6 separate regions of the Homo sapiens genome follow, and all the other regions are linked to region 2. Evidence: promoter capture Hi-C in 16 types of primary human blood cells and fetal thymus (Javierre and others, 2016). All regions are on one chromosome and are shown on one strand. Each heading gives the region's core, a stretch centred on a gene start or on the middle of the fragment in contact. The rest is flanking DNA. Distances are from core to core; before and after follow the strand shown.

Region 1 (2,700 bases), core at 143-2,642, 370 kb before region 2:
CCTCCAGTCACACAGGTAAGTACATGGCAGGGCAAGGACAGGCACCCAGTTTTCCCAAGTCCAGTGGCCTTTTCATGATACCCATTTCTGTGTATCATTTCATTGATTTCTGTGACAGCTGGCCCTTTGCCCCTCATCACCAAATCTTAACTCTTTGGACTTTAATAATGTGCAAAATTAAGAGGAAGTCTGGCATCGGGAGCTTTACACAACTCAGAGAGAACTGAGGAAAGTAGTTAGCATGTTAACTGTGCCTCACCTTGACCTGAAGTGAAGAGCACTCACCAAGCCACAACCTGCTATCTGCACACCCCACACCATGAGGTAAAGGACAGCCAAGGAAGAGAAAGGAAAGAAAAGCAATCCGGCAGGGAGATCAGGGAGCGAAACGAACAGAGAAACGAACAGAGGTTTTTTCCAAGGGCCTTCTATTTTTCTACAATCTCCACACATTCAGTACTGAGACACATTAAGAAGGGCCCACTGAGGCCATCATTCACCCTACTCTCGGGCTGCTTCCATCCTCCAGGCTTCTAGAAGTTGAGAAAGTATGAGCTTCATTGTTAATTATATTACAGAAAATGGGACCAGCTGGGTTGCACCCACTCCCCTGTGTCTGGACCTCCTGCCTATGTAGCAGAAAAGGATCTTTCTGCTGAATTAATATTCACCTCAGAGCCCTGGGAGATGTCTGATGAAAAGTAGTTTTTGAAGAGTCTTGTGACAACCAGCAATTTCGGCAAAGCTATGTCCTCAAGAGTCTTCCAGATTTCCCCAACTCTACAGAATGCTTTTCTTTTTAAATACCATAATCCCATAATCTTTCTCAAAAATTATAAAACTGTATTTTATTTTTCTCATTTATTTGGGAGTTTGGTAAGAAACGTTTGGGAAGAAATGCTTTTATGGAGAAACTACTCAGATTTGAAACTACCTAGTTTATACTACCAGAAGACAGAGATTCAGGTTAGCTAGTTTGCTAATCCTCACAGTTTCAGAGATATGCCTTGTATTTTTCCAGATTATAGGCTTTGAGGACATTCACCAATAGCATCCTCCTCTGAATGTATTTTGGTCCTTTTGCTAAGCTATGTCTTATTTTATAGTCCTCCAAATGATGATCTATGACTTCTCTGCCTGCTCATTAGAGGAAGAAAAGCTCAGATGCATTGCTAACTATTATTTCAATGCCAGTGGAACTGGAGAAATGCTTGAAAAAGTAATCTCAGGTTGTAAAAAAGAACTATCTTTTTTTGGTTGCAGGAGCTAGAACCCTATTATTCTGAGAGTAAATTTTCTATTATTCCTATCTAATTCATTTTCTTGGGAGATGAAACTCCCTCTTTTTTTTGGTGGGGAGACAGGGTCTCACTTTGTCACCCAGGATGATGATGATGGAGTGCTGTGGCACGATCACGGCACACTGAAGCCTCGACCTCCTAGGCTCAAGCGATTCTCTCACTTCAGCCTCCTGAATAGCTGGGACCACAGACACACACCACCTTACCCAGCTAATTTTTTGTATTTTTTTGTAGAGACAGGGTTTTGCCGTGTTGCCCAGGCTGGTCTCGAAGTCCTGGGCTCAAGCGACCCGCTCACCTTGGCCTCCCAAAGTGCTGGGATTACAGGTGTGAGCCCCTCACTGCTCCTGGCTCCCTCATTATTATATTTCCTGAAGTTGACATGATTTGGGTCCTTTACTTAGAAATTGTCATCACACAATTTCAGAAAGGTAAAGAAATCCATTTTTATTGGCAACTTTGGGCTATGCTTCATCCTGGCAAAAATTTAAAAGCAGTACACTTCGACGTGGCTCACTTTCCTGCACACCTCAGGCAGCTTGTACAGACTATCCAAGAAAAAATGAGGAGGAAAGTGCTCCATCAAGGAAGAGGGATGAGATGGGAGCATAATTCACACACTAAGAACTGAGTTCTAAAGTCACTTGAGCTTTCTGGAGCTCAGTTACCTGTAAAACAAGGAAGAATGAATGGTCTTTATGGAAAATGAATGGCAGAATAAGTGATTTGTCAAGTTCATTGAACTATAAATTCCATTTTTACTGTCATTTATTTATAACAAAGTTCAGATATAAAGAAAAATCTGAACATACAGTAGGCACAGATAAACCTATAGCAAATATTCACATGTGGTTTGAATGCATTTATTAATCTCTGTACTTATTAGAATTAATAATAATACTAAAATGATTTGGAGAATTAATGATTAATAACAGTGGAAAATAGCCTTCCCATTATTGTTAGAGGATGGTGCCATCATGATGCTAAATGCCTATCTGAGGGGAAGCTCATAAATATTACTTGACAATATTACTTGATAAATATTTGTTGAAAAAAGAAATGTAGTAAAGAAGCAAGGATGGCTGGGCATGGTGGAGCATGGCTGTGGTCCCAGCTAACTTGGGATGCTGAGGTGGGAGGATTGTTTGAGGGAAGCTGAGTTTGCAGTGAGCCAAGATTGCACTACTGCACTGCAGCCTGGGTGACAGAGTGAGACCCTCTCCAAAAAAAGAAAAAAAAAAAGAGAAAAAAAAGAAGCAGCAGCAACGAAAGGAGGGAGGAAGGGAGAAAGTTTACTTTGATATGCCATATGATTGAAACAAATGCTCTTTTTTCAAAGACAAGGATTATACTCCTTTGCATTCCAGCTACTTTGGTCCATTGTAACTTGGTAACCTTT
Region 2 (2,700 bases), core at 60-2,559:
TGCTCTGTCTACCAAAAGTGAAACCTGAAAACTCCCTCCCACACCAACTCCTACCAACCTTCTACAGTGAAACCAGGACACCCCCACAGTGGCCCAAGTTCTCTATAACTTCTATAGGAACCTAGATGTTGAAGAGTCTGTTCTCTAACTCGTAGTGTCTCTTACAGCCCACACATCTTGAAGATAAATACAGACATACATCACAGACGCACCACTGTAACTGTAGGCATATTATATTTTTGAAGTGCCTAATCATCGAAAGTGACAGAAAGCAATAAACTGTCCTAATCTATGCCACTGGCAATGTGGACCTAAATGAGTTAGCGTTCTTATCTTAAAAAAAAAAATTAAGAGAGAAGAGGCTGGGTGCAGTGGCTCATGCCTGTAATCCCAATGCTTTGGGAGTCTGAGGTGGGAGAATTGCTTGAAGACAGGAGCTCAAGACCAGCATGGACAATATAGCAAGACTCTATCTCTACCAAAAATTTTAAAAATTAGCCAAGCATAGTGGCGCATATCTGTAGTCCTAGACACTCAGGAGGCTGAGTGGGAGGACTGCTTGAGACCTGGAGTTACAGGCTGCAGTGAGCTACGATTGCACCACTGCACTCCAGCCTGGGCAACAGAGCAAGACCCTGTCTCAAAAAAGGGGGTTGGGGAAGAGAATAAGATAAAGAGAACCTAACTGACTTTGATTGCTGCTAGTATGTATTTGATTTATCCTGCCTTGTTCAAAAAACAGGAGGAAATAAGGAAATGGACAGTAAGACAAATTATAGAGATCTGTATATTGTAGTAGGATACAAAGTACAACAAGCAAGACACCGGAAAAAAGGATAATAAAGTAAACTAGATATGGGAGTAACCCATATTTAGCAACCCCCTATATTTATTATTGCAATTGATTTGTATTGCCCCAGAAGAAAGACAAAAAATAAACTCAGGAAGAGCTGAGACCAGGTTTCTCACTGTTCTCCCAAAGAGAATTCAAACTTACCGGCCACTAAGAAGATAGTCAAAATCAACAGTAGCCCTAGGTTAGCAGTTCTCCAAGGGCAGAGCATTTCTGTTTTCTCTTTTTCTGCCCTTCACTCAGTACTTTTCCTCCACACAGGTACAGAAGGAACTGTGCGCATGGTGAGACCCTCTCTGGTCAACTTCTCAGTACAGGATCCTCTTACCCCATCAACAGTGGGGCACTCCCTTCCTTCTAGCCCCTTCCTTCACGTCTATGTGGTTTAGCCTGGTTAGTAACTTGGACGAACAGAAGCTTTTCTCTGGAACTTGACACAGCAATAGATTTCCTGTATGAAGCCCTGAAGCAAAGACGGAGGAAGCAGATTGATTGAATTATCTCTCAGCTCATTGGTTCTCCTCTCACTTCTGCTGTACACAGACAAACTTTACAGTAAGGCATTGAACGTGTCCAAGATAAACAGATTTGTCTAAACTTGCACCAAAAAGTAAAACAGAATATTGATCTACTTTGGCCCATCCTTGTAAATTTCCCAATTATGATGACTTTTAGAGGCTTTCTCCAGGTTGAAGAGCTTTACGGCCTTAGTATTTGAGTCTGGAATACAATATGTTTTCTTGAAAATTATTGTGTGAAATTCCTGTCTATAATGGGAGTCAACACACAACCCTGTAAACATCATATGTGTATTAGTTTCCTATTGCTACTGTAAGAAATTACCACAAACTCAGTGGCTTAACACAACACAACATTTATTATCTTACAGTTCTGGTGATCAGAAGTCTGAAATGGATCTTAGGGGACTAAAATCAAGGTGTTGGAAGGGCTGCACTCCATCTGGAGGCTCGGGCAGAATTTGCTCCCTGCCTTTTCCAGCGATTTGAGAATGCCTGCATTTCTTGGCTTGCAGCTACATCATTCGGACCTCTGGTCCACTGTCACATCTTCTCTGACTGTGACCCTTATGCCTCCCTTTTATAAAGACCTTGTGATTATTTTTGGTCCACCCAAATAATCCAACATGATCTAATTTCAAGATCTTAATTTAATCACATCTGCAAAGTCCTTTTTGCCACACAAGGTAACATTCACAGGTTTCGGTAATTCGGACATAGGTATCTACCTTGTTGGGGGTGAGGGCATTCTGTTTATCAGAACTCAGTACTTATTGCCATTCAGTTTCACCTTTGGAAAATTAGACTGATCATTTTAACCAAATTACAAATAATCACCCATCTCTTAGTTGCCACACATCTGGAATTCAGACTCCCCCTAACCAAAAAAAAAAAACAACAACAACAACAAAAAAACCTCTTCCTTACTGTTGCTAGTTACTATGTTACTATGCTTTTAAGTTATGTCTGAGAGAGGGAAAAATCTTCTATGTGCTGAGAATTTTCTGCCCCAAGGCAAAACTGTACAGGAAGGGGAAGAAAACATTGCAAACAGGAAAAAGATTAAACAGCATGCATTTTTTTTCTCAGTTAGCAGTTTCATCTTCCTTCTTGCCAAACATTATAAATATTTCCCCCCTTCCCCTTCTCAAGCTTTTTTTTCCAGTTAATTAATTTGATGAAGACAGTGAAACCAGATCCTTGAGGGCATGGAACACTTAAGGGTATGAGCTGTGACAATGGGAAGACCAAAACAAAAATGTCTTCTCTTCTGTCTAATGTTTCACCAGGTGTCGGAAAATTAGTGAGAATACATCATTTAAAATACAG
Region 3 (2,700 bases), core at 155-2,654, 360 kb before region 2:
TAAATGGAATAACATGTTCAAGTGTGTAACCTGAGCAATAAGAGTAGTTTTCCACCAAGGCCTGTTCTGTGGTCCCAGGGATTGTTTTACTGAGTAAACATCACTTAATATTAAGTCATTTTTGTTCACCTATTCTCAGAAATAAGTTGGGATCCAACTTAAAGACAATGAAATTCAGATTCCTGAATCACAGCTGCCTGGACTTACAAAAGCAACCTGAGATGGATTTAGGGGCTGGCTGAGCGTAATCAGCATAAACTGGAGAGCAGTCTGGACATGGCTCGAAGCTCTGCCCTCTGTGGGAATTCAGTAAATCACAGAATGTGAGAGCTGGTAAGGACCTTAGAGATTATCTGGCCCAACCTCTCTCATTAGAGATGAGACAACATGTGTGCAGAATTAACTAATGATGCCATTTCTCCAGATCCAGAAATATGTTGCATGTTGGGTCAGCTATTCTGATAGCATAGACAGCCTTTTTTTCCCGTGAAGATTCTCACACAAGCATGGTATATGAATGACTTTTTCATGAACATTTTTTGTGTTCCCCATTTCACATGGTTTCAGAAGCCTGGAATTTTAAAAGAACATTTTGATAAGTTGTTTTAAAAATTGTTTAGGGAATGCTTTAAAGAAGTATTAAGATAAACTTTAGTAAAATGTATTTTCAGTGATATAGTGCCAGTATGCCAAAATTGTTAAGACAGTGGGTTCGGGAGCCAGCCTCTGTGGGAATGAAGTTCAACACTAATTGCATGATGACCTTGGGCTAGTTACTTAACCATTCTGGGCCTCTGTTTTTTCCTCTGTGAAACAAAAATAATGTTAGCATTTATCTTAGACGTGTGAGACTAAGGATTGCAAAGGGTTGAAGAAAGTGCCAGGCATAAGGAAAGCACTTGATAAAGTGACTATTTTTGTTATTGTTATTATTACATGGTATAGTTTTTCATGGTTCAGAACTTTTGTCCGCAAGCATAGAAAGAAACTAGGTGTAAAACCCCAAACTTTTGGCAGGGCGTGGTGGCTCACGCCTGTAATCCCAGCACTTTGGGAGGCCGAGGCAGGCAGATCACGAGGTCAGGAGATCGAGACCATCCTTGCTAACACAGTGAAACCCCATCTCTACTAAAAATACAAAAATAAAATTAGCCGGGTGTGGTGGCGGGTGCTTACTGTAGTCCCAGCTACTCGGGAGGATGAGGCAGGAGAATGGCGTGAACCTGGGGGGTGGAGCTTGCAGTGAGCCGAGATCACGCCACTGCACTCCAGCCTGGGCAACAGGGTGAGACTCCGTCTCAAAATAATAAAAAAAAAACAACCCCAAACTCTTGTCCACATTGGATCAGGAGGCACACTTCTAGACCCCTCTGAGATAGGCCTATGTTAAATATGGGTTTCTTGAAGGCAGAGACCACTCTTCACCTTTTATCTCCAGGACCTCGCACATCATAGCTATTTAACTAGTGTCTTATGAATGTAAAACATTGTTGTTAGAAAAGAATTTAGTCTGAGTCAAGTAGCTGGGCTGTGGGAAGTCACTCCAACTCAGTCTTTGTCAGAGACCACATTTCTGGATGCAAATTCGTAGGACAACATGGAAAATTTGGCCCATCTCAAAACTTTCCCATTTATAAAATAATTTATGCTTACTCGTACATTGAATGGACTGTTTAACAAAACAATTCAGATTTGCTATTCTAAGAAATAGTACTACATTATTCAGAATAAGAAACTGTACCTTGACTCTCAGATCCACATCTGTTAGCACCATGAAGAAGTCATTGTAGGTCATTCCGTACTCTTTCCTCAGCTCGCTGATGAGACGCTGGTCTACCAAGTCTTCATCATCCACCACTCGCATGGGCTTCTCATTATCTTAAGGGAAATAAAATGTGAATGAATATGGGTGTGGCAAGGCAGAAATCATTGGGAGGTGAATGGGTGAAGGCTTTGGGCCTAATCACACCAGCCTTCATTAGTTTTATATATTCAACTCACGTTGTGTTTGAACAAAAGTTTTCGGAGTAAATTAATAAATATAGAAATAAACACATGAATAAAGTTTTGAAAGCTACTCTTCTATAGATGATCAAGGCTCCATCTCTGTCCATCCTGTTCACAGCAAACAGGAACAAAGGAACAAAGTGAGAGTGGAGACTGCTGAGTCATACCTAGGAGAAGACTGCAACTCACCCAGGGAGTGAGTCTTCACCCTAACTCACCGGGGAACTGGACCGACCCAGACAATTTGTTAAGTTCTGTTTCCATTAAACATAATTCTGAGTCTAAAACCTGTGTCTGTTCCTCTTTTTTGGTATAGAATTAACTTTGGGACCCAGTAAGCATGTCATATCTATAGAGAAAAATAGAGTTTCTGTTGAAACCTAGTCACAGTTTCATTTGGGCTCCAAAAGAAGTCAAGCTATTCATAATGCAAATTTTGTAAGTGAACACAGTTTAAAACAAAATGTGACAATTTATGGAAATTTTAAATCACTATATGTTTTTTCAATCATCAGCCTCCCCAAATAAATCCTTATAATTCAGAATGGTTCCAGAAGGTGTCACTGGATTAATGGGAAGCATGAAAATCAAGATACTAGTGGCTTTACATGGCAACTTGTATGTCAGGAAAGCATTTTAACATTTTCAAGGACAGAAGAGCTTTATTTACTTCTTCCCGCTAAAACAAGTCAC
Region 4 (2,700 bases), core at 19-2,518, 270 kb before region 2:
TATGCTTCTTTTGAAAAGTGTCTGTTCATGTCCTTTGTCCACTTTTTAATGGGGTCATTTTTTTACTTGTAAATTTCTTTAAGTTCCTTATAGATGCTGGATATTAGACCTTTGTCAGATGCATGGTTTGCAAATGTTTTCTTTTATTTTGTAAGTTGTCTATTTATTCTCTTGATGGTTTTGTTTGCTGTGCAGAAGCTCTTTAATTAGATCCCATTTATCAATTTTTGCTTTTGTTGCAATTGCTTTTGGCATCTTTGTCATGAAGTCTTTGCCAGTTCCTATGTCCCGAATGGTATTGCCTAGGTTGTCTTCAAATTTTTTTTTACAGTTTTGGGTTTTACATTTAAGTCTTTAGTCTATCTTGAGTTAATTTTTGTGTATGGTATAAAGAAGGGGTCCACTTTCAGACTTCCACATGTGACTAACCAGTTATCTCAGTACCATTTATTGAATATGGAATCCTTTTCCTATTGCTCGTTTTTGTCAGTTGTTTTAAAGATCAGATGGTTGTAGATGTGCAACATTGTTTCAGCAGTCTTTATTCTGTTCTGTTGACCTATGTTTCTGTTTTTGTACCAGTACCATGCTATTTTGGTTACTGTAGCTCTGTAGTATAGTTTGAAGTTGGGTACTGTGATGTTTCCTATGTTGGTGTTGGAAGCAATGTACAAAATGTACAAAAATTGCTAGCATTCCTATACACTGACAACAGTCTTCCTTGGATGTTGTTGATATGTAGGAATGCTGGCAATTTTTGTACATTGATTTTGTATCCTGAAATCTTGCTGATGTTGTTTATCAGCTTAAGGAGATTTGGGGCTGAGAATATGGGGTTTTCTAGATATAGAATTATGTCATGTGCAAACAGGAATCGTTTGACTTCCTCTTCTCCTATTTGGATGCCTTTTATCTCTTGCCTGATTGCTCTGGCCAGGACCTCCAATACTATGTTGAATAAGAGTGGTGAGATAGGGCACCCTTGTCTTGTGCCGGTTTTCAAGAGAAATGCTTCCAGCTTTTGCCTACTTAGTATGACGTTGGCTATGGGGTTTGTCATAGATGGCTCTTATTATTTTGAGGTATCTTCCCTCAATTCTTTGTTTGTTAAGAGCCTTTAACATAAAGGGATGTTGAATTTAATGGAAGCCTTTTCTGCATTTATTGAGATGATCATATGGTTTTTGTCTTTAGTTCTGTTTATCTGATGAATCATGTTTATTGATTTGGATATGTTGAACCAACTTTGCATCCCAGTAATAAAGCCTGCTTTCATGGTGGATTAACTTTTTGATGTACTGCTGGATTCAGTTTGTCAGTATTTTGTTAACTTAACATAGACTTTTGCATCTGTATTAATCAAGGATATTGGCCTGAAGTTTTCTTTGTTTGTTGTGTCTCTGCCATGTTTGGTATCAGGATAATATTGACCTCATAGAATCAGTTGGAGAGGAGTCCCTCCTCCTCAACTTTCTGAAATAGTTTTAAGAGGAATGGTACCAGTTCTTCTTTGTACATCTGATGGAATTCAGCTGTGAATCTGTCTGGTCCAGGACTTTTTTGGCTGGTAGGCTATTTATTACTGATTCAATTTCAGATCTCGTTATTGGTCTGTTCAGGGATTCAATTTCTTTTTGATTCAGTCCTGAGAGGGGTTATGTGTTCAAGAATGTATCCATTTCTTCTATATTCTCTAGCTTGTGTGCATAGAGTTGTTCATATTAGCCTCTAATGGTGATTTGTATTTCTGTGGGGTCAGTGGTAATATCCCTTTTGTTGTTTCCGACTGTGTTTACTTGCATCTTCTCTCTTTTCTTCTTTATTAGTCTAGCTAGCAGTCTATCTATCTTATTTTTTTTTTCAAAACCCCACTCCTGGCTTCATTGATCTTTTAGATGGTTTTTTTGTATCTCAAAAGCTGTCTTCAGTTCAGTTCTGATTTTGGTTATTTCTTGGCTTCTGTTAGCTTTGTGGTTGGTTTGCTCTTGCCTCTCTAGTTCTTTTTGTTGTGATGTTAGGTTGTTAATTTGAGATCTTTCTAACTTTATGATGTAGGCATTTAGCACTATAAATTTCCCTCTTAACGCTGTCTTAGCTGTGTCCCAGAGATTCTGGGTATGTTGTAGCTTTGTTTTCATTAGTTTTAAAGAACTTATTTATTTCTGTCTTAATTTTAGTATTTACCCAAAAGTCATTCTGGAGCAGGTTGTTTAATTTCCATGTAATCATATGGTTTTCAGCAATTTTCTTAGACTTGAATTCTATTTTTTTGCACTGTGGTCTGAGAGAGTGGTTAGTATGATTTTAGTTCCTTTGTATTTTCTAAGGATTGTTTTATGTCCAATTGTGTGGCCAATTTTTGAGTACGTACCAGGTGCAGATGAGAAGAATATATAATCTGTTGTTTTGGGGTGGCGTGTTCTGCAGAGGTATATCAGATCCATTTGGTCCAGTGTTGAGTTCAGGTCCTGAATACCTTTGTTAATTTTCAGCCTCAATGATCTAATACCACCAGTGGGGTTGTAAAGTCTCCTGCTACTATTGTTTGAAAGTTTAAGTCTCTTTGTAGGTCTCTAAGAACTTGTTTTATGAATCTGAGTGCTCCTGTATTGGGTGCATATATATTTAAGATGGTTAAGTCTTCTTGTTGAAGTGAACCCTTTACCATTATGCAATGCCCTTCTTTGTCTTTTTTGATCT
Region 5 (2,700 bases), core at 73-2,572, 310 kb before region 2:
AGGAGTATCTTTGTGGCGTTCTCTGTATTTCCTGAATCTGAACGTTGGCCTGCCTTGCTAGATTGGGGAAGTTCTCCTGGATAATATCCTGCAGAGTGTTTTCCAACTTGGTTCCATTCTCCCCATCACTTTCAGGTACACCAATCAGACGTAGATTTGGTCTTTTTACATAGTCCCATATTTCTTGGAGGCTTTGCTCATTTCTTTTTATTCTTTTTTCTCTAAACTTGCCTTCTCGCTTCATTTCATTCATTTCATCTTCCATTGCTGATACCCTTTCTTCCAGTTGATCGCGTCAGCTCCTGAGGCTTCTGCATTCTTCACGTAGTTCTCAAGCCTTGGTTTTCAGCTCCATCAGCTCCTTTAAGCACTTCTCTGTATTGGTTATTCTAGTTATACATTCGTCTAAATTTTTTTCAAAGTTTTCAACTTCTTTGCCTTTGGTTTGAATGTCCTCCCGTAGCTCAGAGTAATTTGATCGTCTGAAGCCTTCTTCTCTCAACTGGTCAAAGTCATTCTCCATCCAGCTTTGTTCCATTGCTGGTGAGGAACTGCGTTCCTTTGGAGGAGGAGAGGCGCTCTGCTTTTTAGAGTTTCCAGTTTTTCTGTTCTGTTTTTTCCCCATCTTTGTGGTTTTATCTACTTTTGGTCTTTGATGATGGTGATGTACAGATGGGTTTTTGGTGTGGATGTCCTTTCTGTTTGTTAGTTTTCCTTCTAACAGACAGGACCCTCAGCTGCAGGTCTGTTGGAATACCCTGCCGTGTGAGGTGTCGGTGTGCCCCTGCTGGGGGGTGCCTCCCAGTTAGGCTGCTTGGGGGTTAGGGGTCAGGGACCCACTTGAGGAGGCAGTCTGCCCGTTCTCAGATCTCCAGGTGCGTGCTGGGAGAACCACTGCTCTCTTCAAAGCTGTCAGACAGGGACATTTAAGTCTGCAGAGGTTACTGCTGTCTTTTTGTTTGTCTGTGCCCTGCCCCCAGAGGTGGAGCCTACAGAGGCAGGCAGGCCTCCTTGAGCTGTGGTGGGCTCCACCCAGTTCGAGCTTCCCAGCTGCTTTGTTTACCTAATCAAGCCTGGGCAATGGTGGGCGCCCCTCCCCCAGCCTCGCTGCCGCCTTGCAGTTTGATCTCAGACTGCTGTGCTAGCAATCAGCGAGACTCCGTGGGCGTAGGACCCTCCGAGCCAGGTGTGGGATATAATCTCGTGGTGCGCCGTTTTTTAAGCCCGTCGGAAAAGCGCAGTATTCTGGTGGGAGTGACCCGATTTTCCAGGTGCTGTCAGTCACCGCTTTCTTTGACTCGGAAAGGGAACTCCCTGACCCCTTGCACTTCCCAAGTGAGGCAATGCCTCGCCCTGCTTCGGCTCGTGCACGATACGTGCACCCACTGACCTGCGCCCACTGTCTGGCACTCCCTAGTGAGATGAACCCGGTACCTCAGATGGAAATGCAGAAATCACCTGTCTTCTGCTTCGCTCACGCTGGGAGCTGTAGACCGGAGCTGTTCCTGTTCGGCCATCTTGGCTCCTCCCTGCCAGATAGCTCTTATTTTGAGGTATGTTCCTTCAATGCCTAGTTTGTTGAGGGTTTTTATCATGAAGGGATGTTGGATTTTATCAAAAGGTTTTTCCATGTCTATTGAGAGATCATATGTTTTTGTCTGTAGTTCTGTTTATGTGGTGTATCATGTTTATTGATTTATGTATGTCGAATCAACCTTGCATCCAAGGAATGAAGCCAAGTATGGTCACGGTGAATTAACTTTTTTATATCCTGTTGGATTTGGTTTGCTAGTATTTTGTTGAGGATTTTTGCATCTACGTTTATAAGGGATATGTGCCCGTAGTTTTCTTTTTTTGTTGTATCTTTGCCAGGTTTTGATATCAGGAGATATTGCTTTCATAGAATGAGTTAGAGAGGAGTGCCTCCTCAAATTTTTGGAGTAGTTTCAGAATTGGTAACAGTTCTTTGTATAACTGGTAGAATTTAGTTGGGAATCCATCTGGTTTTGAGCTTGCTGTGGCTGATAGGTTTTTTTAAATTACTGATTCAATTTTGGAACTTGATGTTGGTCGTTCAGGGTTCCAATTTCTTCCTGATTCAATCTTGGGAGATTGTGTGTTTCCAGGAATTTATCAGTTTCCTCTAGATTTTCTAGTTTGTGTGAATAGATGTTCATAGTGGCCTCTGAGGATCTTTTGTATTTCCGTATGGTCAGTGGTAACATCACTTTTGTCATTTCTTATTGTGCTGATTTAAATCTACTCTCTTTTGTTCATTAGTAGTCTTGCTAAAAGTCTATTTACCTTATTTGTCCTTTCAAATAACCAACTTTTTGTTTCAATGATTCTTTGTATGAATTTTTGGGTCTCAATTTTATTCAGTTCTGCTCTATCACCTCTATTTTAAAAGTAAAAACATTCCTGCTTTTATTCCTAAGCATGACTTATTTTAAAATTCCAATAAAAATTTAATTTATCATTGAATGTCCAAATCTTCTGCCTTCTCTTTAATATGAAATTTGGGGAAAGATACATTTCTTCTGATTTAACAACATTCTTCATACCTAAAGTCAAAAGGGAAAACTTTGCTTTGTATTTTTCTGTGTCTTCTTTTATAGTGTTTTCACAATGTCGTTGGTGGCCAAATTATTGTGCTTGAAATTTTGTGTTTGGTTAACACAAGCATACAAAAGAGGGAGT
Region 6 (2,700 bases), core at 184-2,683, 290 kb before region 2:
TTATGAGTTCCAGCCTCTTGACTTTCAATTTACAAAACAGAACTGATAAATTTACCTCTTTACAAGGCTGCGGTGGGGATTTGGTAAGATGAAGGTTTTTGCACAGTGCCTGGCATATAGTAAGGGCTCAGTAGATGTTACTTGTATGTAGTATTAAGTAGAACTCAAGCACATACAAGAGCAGGTTCTTCAAAGCTCAGCTGATGACTACCTCATTGACCACTGAAGTCCTAGCAGCTAGCACAGGATGAATACTCAATAAATATTTGTTAAGTGAATAAAGTTACAAGTTTTTTCCCTGTTTCATTTGCCCACCAGTCCATAACCTTCATCCCTTGCTTCCTCTATCACAAAGGAACTTTGATAGAGTCAGAGGAAAGAGTATCATGAGTAGGTGAAGTTGGCTATGCTAACAGGACTGGTCAAAACTAAAAAAAAGCAAGAGCCCAGTGGGAAGACGGCAGCCTAGAGGAACCAGACATCTGGGAAGGTCACAACTAGGAACCAGGAAGGGGGAGAGACTGAATAAAAGGGCAGGTCCAGGGCATGCGGATTCTGTGTGCTTTTTTTTCCAAGGACTGGCTATGCTGGGAATTGCAGCAAGCTGAATCCATCAAAGTTGAAATATAAAAGCTTCTTTCAAGTTTTGCCAGGAACTGTCTGTGTGTGACTCATTCCAGGTAGGATGTAAAAGACCATGCTCAATAACCAGACACATATGTATTTATTGTGCTCCACCCTTTTCTCCCTGATTCCTTTCTCCCTCTCCTTCCAGGATTTCCTCCTGTTTGCAAGTTTGATGGGAATGGAGAAGGCTGGGAAGCTCTGCTTCTTTACATTTTTAAACTTGAGGCAACAATCTGCTTTTATAAGCATCAGTAAAACCAGAGTGCTGTCCCCTCATTTCTGTAAAATTAGATTCAGTTTTTGTTTCAAATAAAATAAATGGTGTGCACTCAGACTGCTGAATGCAGAAAGATTGTTAATCACAAACTTATCAGCTGTTAGTCTTAGGTCTAGAGTTTCCCTCACTCTAGTCAACCTTTTTGATGTGCTGTGTTCTAACCTCTTCTTACCAGGAATGTTCATCAAGGGGAACATTTCTAGCCTTCGGTTTTAAAGCCCCTAGCTCACCAGCTCACCACCTTATTGAGGAAGAGAAAGTATCATATGGAATTATGTTTTCAGTCTTGCAGACAGTGGTTGGAGATTGCAAGGCCAACCTGAAGTAGGTGTGGTTTTTTGTTTTGTTTTCAGCTAAAATTGCTTGTTGGTATTGGCAGGAGGCTTAGTAGAAAAGGAGGGGAGAATTTGTCCCTGGCAGTTTTTAAATCCACAAAAAGCCAGCATTTGCTTTGCAAGCACATATCTCCTAAGTTTTGTGGGCTCCTGCCCACAGTAGGCAAGCAGTTTACTCTTTGTCTGCAGCAACTCACCATACTTCAAGACTCCTTCGATGTTGATTCCCCATTTGGTTCAAGCTCTCTGACCTACAGCAATTTTACTACTACATCAGCGCTGAGAGTAGACAGCAACAAAGACATCAAAAGACCCTTGGCTTATTTTTACACCCTATTGCTCAGCCTTTGTTGTTACTGCATTAGTGATTTTCCTGCTTTCATTTTGTGGCTTTCTACTTCTGTAGCTATTCTTTCTTCAGCTCTTTTAATAAACATTATTCATACTTTCCTTTCCTACTTTTTAAAAATTCTAATTGTCCCAGCTCAGTAGCGGCCTTGCCAGACACAGGCCCAGTGGAGCAGGCACCAAAGCTAGGAATGCAGGGCAAGCTGAATCCAGAGGTCACAGGGGCACAGGAAAATCCCAGGACACAAAGGCCCCAGTGCAGGTTGCACAGGAGAGGCAAGTGACTAAGTTAGACACAAAATATAGACTAGGTGCTGATGCCAGGAACAAATAGCATAAAAAGTCAAAACTAAAGCCAGAATTCAAAGCAGGAGCACTGCGAACCATGGCTCCAATTTCAGAGGTAAATTAGCAAGGAATGGCCTTTTAACCACTAGAATAACTACCATTGCTGGAATATTGACCATAGACCGGAAACTGCATGATCCCTTACATTGAAACTCTGCATGGGTTAGTCGCCATGATCCCTCATGTGCAGAGGAAGAAACTGAGGCTCAGAAGTGGAATTATTTGGCCACACCACACTTTAGACCTAGGTGTGTATGACTATAAGCCATCCTCTTCCCATGAGTCTCACTGCTACTGGGTAAGCTTTTGGTGTTCTATGTCTGGCTACCTCTTCTTTTTTTTAAAACAAACAAACAAACAAATAAAAAACTCTTTTATTTTAGATTCAGGAATACAAGTGCAGGCGTGTTATATAGATAAACTCGTGTCACGGGGGTTTGATGTACAGATTATTTTGTCACCCAGGTACTAAGCCTAATAACCAATAGGTATTATTTCTGCTCCTCTCCATCCTCCCATCCTCTGGTAGGCCCCAGAGTCTGTTGTTCCCCTCTTTGTGTCCATGTGTTCTCATAATTTAGCTCCCACTTGTAAGTGAGAACATGCTATATTTGGTTTTCTGATCTTGTGTTCGTTTGCTAAGGATAATGACCTTCAGCTTCATCCATGCCCCTGCAAAGGACATGGTCACATTCTTTTTTATAGCTGCATAGTATTCTACAGTGTATATGTACCACATTTTCTTCATTCAGTCTATCATTAATG

What was found. Contacts are between HindIII fragments. The CHiCAGO score rates a contact against its expected background, and 5 or more counts as called.
Region 1: a fragment that was not itself captured here is called in contact with the fragment with the promoter of CD200R1 in region 2 in 3 of 17 cell types (M1 macrophages, erythroblasts and megakaryocytes); the score reaches 8.8 in M1 macrophages.
Region 3: a fragment that was not itself captured here is called in contact with the fragment with the promoter of CD200R1 in region 2 in 2 of 17 cell types (M1 macrophages and megakaryocytes); the score reaches 7.1 in M1 macrophages.
Region 4: a fragment that was not itself captured here is called in contact with the fragment with the promoter of CD200R1 in region 2 in 3 of 17 cell types (M0 macrophages, monocytes and M2 macrophages); the score reaches 6.2 in M0 macrophages.
Region 5: a contact is called between a fragment that was not itself captured here and the fragment with the promoter of CD200R1 in region 2, in 5 of 17 cell types (total CD8 T cells, erythroblasts, M1 macrophages and 2 more). The highest score is 5.9, in total CD8 T cells.
Region 6: a fragment that was not itself captured here is called in contact with the fragment with the promoter of CD200R1 in region 2 in 15 of 17 cell types (M1 macrophages, monocytes, M2 macrophages and 12 more); the score reaches 17.7 in M1 macrophages.

The regions. Positions count from the first base shown.
Region 1 is chr3:112,599,154-112,601,853 of GRCh38, forward strand. It overlaps CCDC80 (coiled-coil domain containing 80), which reads right to left. Exons shown (of 8, transcript NM_199511.3): 8 at 1-2,700. Among named protein-coding and RNA genes, the nearest start is that of SLC35A5, 38 kb to the left of the region's middle. The HindIII fragment of the contact is 3,746 bases long and covers 1-2,700 here.
Region 2 is chr3:112,973,794-112,976,493 of GRCh38, forward strand. It overlaps CD200R1 (CD200 receptor 1), which reads right to left and starts at 1,310. Exons shown (of 8, transcript NM_138806.4): 1 at 998-1,310. The coding sequence starts at 1,064. The HindIII fragment of the contact is 1,253 bases long and covers 1,269-2,521 here.
Region 3 is chr3:112,617,227-112,619,926 of GRCh38, forward strand. CCDC80 (coiled-coil domain containing 80) reads right to left here. Exons shown (of 8, transcript NM_199511.3): 4 at 1,742-1,878. Among named protein-coding and RNA genes, the nearest start is that of CCDC80, 23 kb to the right of the region's middle. The HindIII fragment of the contact is 9,423 bases long and covers 1-2,700 here.
Region 4 is chr3:112,706,566-112,709,265 of GRCh38, forward strand. No RefSeq gene overlaps it. Among named protein-coding and RNA genes, the nearest start is that of MIR9900, 29 kb to the right of the region's middle. The HindIII fragment of the contact is 3,822 bases long and covers 1-2,700 here.
Region 5 is chr3:112,663,635-112,666,334 of GRCh38, forward strand. No RefSeq gene overlaps it. Among named protein-coding and RNA genes, the nearest start is that of CCDC80, 24 kb to the left of the region's middle. RefSeq lists an enhancer at 1,244-1,817. The HindIII fragment of the contact is 3,103 bases long and covers 1-2,700 here.
Region 6 is chr3:112,688,408-112,691,107 of GRCh38, forward strand. No RefSeq gene overlaps it. Among named protein-coding and RNA genes, the nearest start is that of MIR9900, 47 kb to the right of the region's middle. The HindIII fragment of the contact is 1,605 bases long and covers 632-2,236 here.